Regions from separate parts of the Homo sapiens genome. Here region 2 is linked to region 1. Evidence: promoter capture Hi-C in 16 types of primary human blood cells and fetal thymus (Javierre and others, 2016). All regions are on one chromosome and are shown on one strand. The core of a region is centred on a gene start or on the middle of the fragment in contact, and the rest is flanking DNA. Distances in the headings are between cores, read along the strand shown.

What was found. Contacts are between HindIII fragments. The CHiCAGO score rates a contact against its expected background, and 5 or more counts as called.
Region 2: a contact is called between a fragment that was not itself captured here and the fragment with the promoter of SYNC in region 1, in 1 of 17 cell types (M1 macrophages). The highest score is 5.1, in M1 macrophages.

What each region holds. Positions count from the first base shown.
Region 1 is chr1:32,700,556-32,704,551 of GRCh38, forward strand. It overlaps SYNC (syncoilin, intermediate filament protein), which reads right to left and starts at 2,215. Exons shown (of 5, transcript NM_030786.3): 1 at 2,053-2,215. The coding sequence starts at 2,105. RefSeq lists enhancers at 1,683-2,448, 2,449-3,214 and silencers at 2,575-2,624, 2,675-2,764. The HindIII fragment of the contact is 11,042 bases long and covers 1-3,996 here.
Region 2 is chr1:32,539,162-32,543,157 of GRCh38, forward strand. ZBTB8A (zinc finger and BTB domain containing 8A) reads left to right here and starts at 266. Exons shown (of 5, transcript NM_001040441.3): 1 at 266-411. LOC124903952 (a long non-coding RNA gene) reads right to left here. Exons shown (of 2, transcript XR_007065669.1): 2 at 2,415-2,668. RefSeq lists a silencer at 629-998. The HindIII fragment of the contact is 462 bases long and covers 1,544-2,005 here.

The DNA.
Region 1 (3,996 bases), core at 965-3,464:
GTATGGTGGTGTGTGCCTGTAATCCTAGCTACTCAGGAGGCTGAAGCAGGAGGATTGCTTGAACCTGGGAGACAGAGGTTGCAGTGAACTGAGATTGCGCCATTGCCCTCCAGCCTGAGCAACAAGAGCAAGACTCTGTCTCAAAAAAAGAAAGAAAGAAAGAATCTTCATCTATTATCTCCATTTTATAGATGAGGAAGCCAATGCACAGAGTAAGAACTCACACAAGGTTCCACAACTGTTGTAAGTGGTGGAGGCTGGAGAAGGCCTGCAGTATTTACCACCCTCCTAGGATAGGCGTGAGGTCCAAAAGAGGTAACTACAGCACATATAAAAAGCCTGGCATGCAGCAGTCACAATATACTTTTTTTTTTTTTGAGATGGAGTTTCACTCTTGTTGCCCAGGCTGGAGTGCAATGGTGTAATCTCCGCTCACTGCAGCCTCTGCCTCCTGGGTTCAAGCAAGTCTCCTGTCTCAGCCTCCCAAGTAACTGGGATTACAGGCACACGCCACCACGCCTGGCTAATTTTTGTATTTTTAGTAGAGCCGGGTTTCACCATGTTGGCCGGGCTGGTCTTGAACTCCTGACCTCAGGTGATCCGCACACCTCGGCGTCCCAAAGTGCTGGGATTACAGGCGTGAGCCACCGCGCCGGGCCCACAATATACTTCTATCTATCTAACAAATTTCTACTCATCCTTCAAGCCCTGCTCAAACTTCATCTCTTCCGTAAAGTATCTCCCAGACAGCCCCATGTGTGTTCTCAGGGCACTCTGTATGCAGCACATCTTCACACTTATTGCTCCAGTTACAGAAGTACATGTGTCTGTCTCCCTGATAGTGAGTTTCCTAAGGACAAGCAGAGTTCTCATTCTGCTCTATATCCTAGGGTGGGGCTCTGTAAGGGCAGACAGGCAGAAACCAGATGAACTCCAAGGAGGAAATCTGCCCAAGGTCGAATGGCAAAGCTGGAAGTAAAACCCAGGCCTCCTGACCTCCAAGCTGTGCTGTTAGCACACATCGTGCTGCCTCCACCACCCCACCCATGGTGCCAGGCCTCTGCTGGGTGCTGCCCTCACACAGCCGCCTCTTTTAAACAGAGAGAGGAGGGAAAGAAGCAGATGACAGGAGGCTCAGAGGAGAGGAAGCCAGCTTAGTTGGGGCCCCTGACCTCGGGCTTCCTTGGGCCCTGGGCAGCCTGCCTCTGCCACTCTGTCCCTGTCCCCAGAGAACCGCAGAGCTCTCCAACCCTGTTCAGGGATGTGGCTGGGAGTCCATGTGACATTGTGCAGGCAAGAGTCCGTGTGTCTGACTGTAGCTGTAGGTGTGGACAGCAGTATGGGTGAGTGTGTGTGTGTAAGACCGCTCAGCTTTGTGCCCCTGTGTGACAGTGAAGGGGTGTCGGGAGCTATGTATTTGCACCCTCACCTCTTGGTACACTGGGAAGTCCCAGAGCCACAGTATGACCTGGGACAGAAATACACCTCACCCCAAACCCCTCAGCCACAGGTCCCTTCCCCCAATAATCAGCCGTGCCCTGCCAGGAGGGATAGTGGGGAGGGCCCCTGGACCCTTCCCCCACCCATCCCAGGCCAGACGGGAGAGAACAAGCCCTGACAGACTCTTAACTTCAAGCTGGCAGATGCCCAGCCTTGCACCAAGTGGCTTCCACACAGCCACTTCAGCAGGGGAGGCCTCTGTCTCCAACTGACATTTGCAGGGAGGAATGAAGGCTAGCGAGAAGTGTCTTTGGCTGCTATGGGCCAAATGGCACTTGAGCGGTGGATGCCCACTCGCCTGGAAGGGTTAATTTTCATGTAGTCCCGGGAGGGGGAGGGGTATTATAAAAAGCCACAGACAAACGGAGGTGCCAGGACCCCGGGACGGCCCGACTCCCCGATGTCCCCTCACGAGGCGGCTCCAGTGCCCCACCCCGGCTGGACCACTACCCCTAGACAGGCGAAAGACGCCCGCGGTCGGGGGGAAAGGGAACCCGTCCAGCAGCACCCCTTCCCCAGCGGGGCGGCGACGCGGGCCCGGCACTGTCCTACCTCGCGGCCTGGGCGGCGCCGTCCCCGCCGCGCCGGGGCTCCGGGCTGGCCATGGCTGCGCGACCCCGGGCTGGCGGCCGCGTTATTAATAGCCGGGCCCGCGGGCCCCTCGCTCCGGCGCCCGCGCCCGCCGCACTGCCAGCTGCAACCGACACCGGATCCCGGCCGGCCCCGGGCCGGGCGCGCCCACTTGGCCGGGGCTCCTGCCGGGGGAGGAGGGAGCGGCCGCGCGGACCTGGGGGCGGGGAGAGGCTGCCCCTCCCGGACCAGCCTGGGGCGGGGGTGGGAACGGGGGCCTGGAGCTGTCTTTCCAAACCTCCCAGCCCCCTCGTCTTCCCGAACCTTCTCTCCACCCTTCCTTTCGTGAGGTCCCGTTGCAGGGGGAGTCAGAAGGGGGGTCTGAAGCCCCAGGGAGCACCTTCCCTGTCCAGCCTGGGAGGGTGGAGGCAGGGTTGGGCGGGCTGCTCAAAGGGAGCCAGCACCCCTCTCCCGCGAGTGTTTGGGGGTGTCCGCTGCCGCTCAGCGCCCTCTGGTCCCCACCCAAGAGGGGAAGGGCCGCAGCCACCCTCTGGGCACTCCGGGCTGTCCCCGGCAGCTGTCGTGAAGGGCGGGGCAGGGCGCGGCCGGGGAGGAGGGTTCACGGCCACACCCCGCGCGTTTGGGGACAGCCTGGAGCCTGGGGGCGGGCTGGGTGGCTGGGGTTAGAGAGAACTGCGGAGGAGTTTACGCCTATCACATTGAGTCCATATTTAACCCCACTTTCTGCCCCACCCTTTGAGGCTTCCTGGGGTCTCTCTCCTGCTCCACCTGTCACCCCACTCAGCCCACTTCTGTCAACTTCAAGACATACCTCCCCCCACGTCCTCAGCCCACTAGTGTGAGGGTCAAACCAGCACTGACGTCTTTCTCCCCAAGAGAGAAGCTGCTGGGCCCCTTCCCAGACCTGGGCTTCAGGCGTTCTTCCTTCGGATTCCTTTTTCCACTTAGCTACCCTGTCTGGGGAGGTCTTTGACTCAATCGCAGAAGAATGCTGGCACCATAACAAGCCCCAGGGGCTGGGGTGCCTGGGAGGCCGGTGGGGGAAGCATGCCGTGGTGTTGAATGTGTGTGGGCTTGTGTGCCCCTGTGTGACTCTGCGGTGATTGTGGGGTACATGTCTGTGTGTGAGCATGTGGATGTGTGATTGTGTGATCTCAGGGTGAATGTGTGTGGTGATTGTGCCATGGTGGAGTGTCTTTGTGGGGCTGGCGGTTTTGACTCTGTGTGGGGGGCATGCATATGGTCCCGCTTGTGACTCTGACTGTGTGCTTGTGCGTGACTGGGGGTTGATAAATGTTCATTCATCCTCGCGTCTGAGTGTGCTGCCTGTGGCTGTATATTTATATTTCTCTGTCTAATGCAAGGGGGTGGAAGATTTAACACCCAGGGCAGCCAAATATACCCTTGTAAGGTACGCACGAGAAAAAGCCAGGTTTTGAGGCTGCTGGTCATTTTCTGACTTACCCCCGAACTATTCCAGGGGAGGAGGCTGGCGAAGCCTCAGCTGCTGGGCATTTGACATCTGCTGCCCGCCAGAGGAGAGCTAAGGCAGCAAGGGCAGGCCTGCCAGAGGCTCTGTTTGCTGTGGTACCAAGCAACAGGCGGCAAGGGTGGCATTCAGAAGAGCTGGCTCTGCCCCTCCAACCCCCAGCCCAGGACCTGGCCTTAGGCTGTCCCTAGGACTGAATTTCTGACCCGCTCCTACCCTCCTGCTCAGCGCTTCTTTAGGCTGAAACCCTGAATTCCCCAGGGTCCCAGAAACTTCCCCACCTCCAAGCCTTTGTTGTTGTTTTTTTTGTTGCTGTTGTTTCTTGCAGTCAGGGTCTCACTCTGTCATCCAGGCAGGAGTACGGTGGTGCAATCATGGTTCACGGCAGCCTCAACCTCCTGGGCTCAGGTGATCCT
Region 2 (3,996 bases), core at 525-3,024, 160 kb before region 1:
CCAGATCCTAGAAATCCAGCCCTTCTGCCCTCCGGAGGCGCCTTTCCCAACGTAAAGTACAATTTTAAATTTCAGCTCCTGACTAAAATCATGATCCGCAGTCAACTGCTAGAGAATCTGGGCACCCCGGTGTCTCTGGAGCGTGCAGCGAGTGTGGGCAAGGGCAGGGGGAGTGGGCGAAGCTGCTGGTTGGTGCCTGAAATCTGTGCGTTGCCCCTTTAATTGTGTCCCCAGCCCTCGGGCGTTTCTGTCCAACGCCCACGTCAGCAAATACCTTTTGTTTCTCTCACGTTGGGGCTACTTGTTTTAGGGCGCAAAGGAACGGCCTCGAAAGGGGGTCCTTCCCCAGCCGAGAACCAGGAATCTTCCCTCGGCCCGCGCGCGCGACCGGCCGGTGCGCCGCGGCCCGCGGTAAGTGGCTGCACGCGGCGCCGGCGGAGGGCGGGCGGGCGTCGGGGCTGCCCGGGACCCGCCGCGAGCCTGGCCGCGGGCTCTGACGGCCCGGGCGGCGGCAGTGCTGGGATGCGGGCCCCGGGCGCGCCTCCCCCAGACGTCCCCGGGCCGGGAGCGCGGCGGGAGGCGCCCGGGAGGGGCTGCGGGACAATGGCCGCGCCGTCGCCGCCCGCGCCCGCCTCGCCGCCCGGCCCGGCCCGGGGAAAGGCGGGAAGGCGCGCGGAGCCTCCTGGAGGCGGCGGCGGGAAGGCGGCGGGGACGGCGCCGGGCGTGTCTGGAGCCGTCGGGCGCCGCGGACTCTGGAGGGGCTCGGGCTGCGCGGAGCAAAGACGGGCGGCCGCCGCGGGGGCGCGCGGGGAGGGCAGGGCAGGGCCGGGGCCGGAGTCTCTGCGGGCGCGGCCAGGGGCGCTGCCGGGGAACCTGGCTCCCAGGGCAGTAGCCCGAGTTTCTCGGTGCAGCCTCCATCCTTGGTTTTATGTCAAGATGCGACATCTGGGCTTAGAACCGAGGGCGAACTCACCGCGCCTAACCAATGTTGAGCTCCCAACTATTTGCTTCTGGACGGAACCTTACATGCTCATCTCTACCCATGCGGACCGCCTCTTTTGTGAGTTAGTCAGCGGCTTGTTCCCTTCCCCTTCAGATGCGCTTATGTATCCCCGATTGTTCCAATGGCCCTACTCCACATCATTCTAAGACGCGTTTGGAAGCGGTAGATTCACACACACCTGGTGGGCTTCTAACCACACACGTCAATATCACCTCTATGCTTGATAAACCTTTATAGTTGCACAACTTTAAATGGAGTGCTTTCACCTATATGAATTATTTCACTTAATTTCACATAAAACAACCACCTAGTCAGGCTGACGGTAATTCCACTTTGCAGATGAGGGAACACGTATGAAGCATGGCGTTTCACCTCTAGGCTAGGGTGACCATAGCCGCCCAGGGCCTCCTGTTCCCGCCCTGCCTTCCCTCCTAAGGCACCTCCAGAGGAGTCTTTAGAAGGGCCAGTCTTAACACAGCGCTTCCCTGCTCTAAAAACCTTAACTGATCTTTTTCAGGAAAGCCTCCAAAATCCTCAACAAGCTTCTGCTCCAGTCTTATCTCCTCCATGCCTCAGGTATGGATGCGTTTGTAGACTGGAGCAAGAGCCCCTCACTGATAAGCAGGGATCAGATGTCTTTATTCCTGGGAACCTCTCTGGCCACACAAGTGGCAACTGGGAAGTGAGAATCTGGCTTAGGGCCCTTGATCAAATGGGTGTCTGGGTGGATTGTGCTCTAAAATGTCAGCAGGAGGCATAATGAGTAGGGACTCCAGGAAGGAGGCCACACCACTAACCCTTATCTCCTAGCCCTGAAATCACCAGCTTCGCTGTTGATAATGATTTGGGGCCATCAAAAACTTTGTAAGATAGAGTAATTTAATTCATCGTATGTCATTTAAATCTAATTTTTAGATAAAACTGTGTAATAGACTTAACTCAGTGACACAATGATATGTTAATCATATTTAAAGATTTGATGTGTTTGATTCCCTTGAATGAAGCTTTTGCCACTTTTCTGCTCAAAATTGGTCAGTGGCTCCCCATCTTACGCAGTTTAAAAGCCAAAAGCTCCATAATAGTCTATGCAGCCTTACAAGCACCTGGTCTCACCATGTCCTACTTCTCTCATGATCTGCTTTCCCTTTCTGACTCCATATCCCATTGCTTCCCCCATGCCTCCTTGCCTGCTCACCTCAGGGCCTTTGCACTTGCCGTTCCCTTTGCCTGAAATGCTCTTCCCCCAGACACCCACATGACTCTCTTACTTCCTTTGGACTTTACCCAAATGCCATCTTCTCAATGAGGCTTTCCTCAACTATAGTTTTGATTCTCTTAAGTGTTTTTATTAATTCTAAATCTTTTCTGTCTCAGGCCATTTGTGCAGCTATAAAAATACTTTGGGACTGGGTAATTATAAAGAACAAATTTATTTCTCACACTTCTGGAGGCTGAGAAGTTTAGGCAGTTTGGTGTCTAGTGAGGGCTGCTCTTTGCTTCCAAGATGGCACCGTGTTGCTGCATCCTCTGGATGGGAGGACTGCTGTGTCCTCACGTGGCAGAAGGAATGGAAGGGCAGAAGAGGCTAAACTCACTCCCTCAGGTGCTTTTATAAGGGCACTAATTCCATCCATGAGGGCAGAGTCTTCGTGGCCCAATCACCTCCTAAAGATGATACCGTTGCAATCGGGATGAAGTTTCAACATGAATTTTGGAGGGGACACAAATGTTCAAACCATAGCTCTTAAATGTTTTTAATACAGACGATCACTGACTTACAATGGCTTGACTTACGATTTTTTGACTTTACAGTGCGTTTAATGGGGTATTAAATGCATTTTAAACTTACAATGTTTTCAACTTAAAATAGGTTTATTGGAATGTAACCCCATCGTCAGTTGAAGAGCATCTGTACTTAATTCTAAATCTTCCAAAGCTGAAGGATCATTTATCCATCAAGGAATACAGTTACCACTCTAGTTAGCTGAAGTTCTTTATGACTCAGGAACGTTTGCTAAGCAGGCTAACAAGATTAGTTTTGCTGACCCTGGTGGGACACATTAAATTTTAGATTAATGACTATATATCTTAAAAGAGTTGATCTTCCCAGCCGAGTGTGGTGGCTCACACCTATAATTCCAACACTTTGGGAGGCCAAGGCCTCGGGGGTCGGGGGGGCGGGGTGTGGATCACGAGGTCAGGAGTTCGAGACCAGCCTGGACAAGAAGGTGAAACCCCATCTTCTTTACTAAAAATACAAAAATTAGCACACAGTGGCAGGCACCTGTAATCACAACTACTCGGGAGGCTGAAGCAGGAGAATCACTTGAACCTGGGAGGCAGAGGTTGCAGTAAACCGAGATTGCGCCACTGCACTCTAGCCTGGGCGACAGAGCAAGACTCCGTCTCAAAAAAAGAGAGTTGATCTTCTCAACGACAACCTTAGTTCAAGTTACACTCGCTACTTAAATCTTCAGTCTACTCATAGAAATACATGTCATTGGCTTCTATTCCAAAGACTTTCGAACTTAATGGTTCCTAAAATGTGTAATTGTCTTTCCCAACCACCTTTTTAAAGATCATTGAACTTGATGGAAATCTTGAATTCTGTTATATTCTTGGGACTATTATAATATTTAACTCTTACAGATATTTAAAATGTTTCCATTTGGATTTTGGATGTCCCATATAAATTGATCTAACTTGCTGTTTCAACGTATAAAGTCACTCTACTGAAAGAAGAAAATCTGAAATGCATTACCGATTTCCATGACCTAATCACATAATTCTGAAAATAACTTAAACCTTTTTTGATGACTCAAGAGTACTACTATGAATGCATGTTATGTTAAAATCCTTTCAATGTGAATATCAGGTTGTAACTGACCCCAGTGTATAGGACAATTCCTATTTTTTTTTTAGATATAACTTTTTTTGAGACGGAGTTTCACTCTTGTTGCCCAGGCTGGAGTGCAATGGTGTGATCTGGGCTC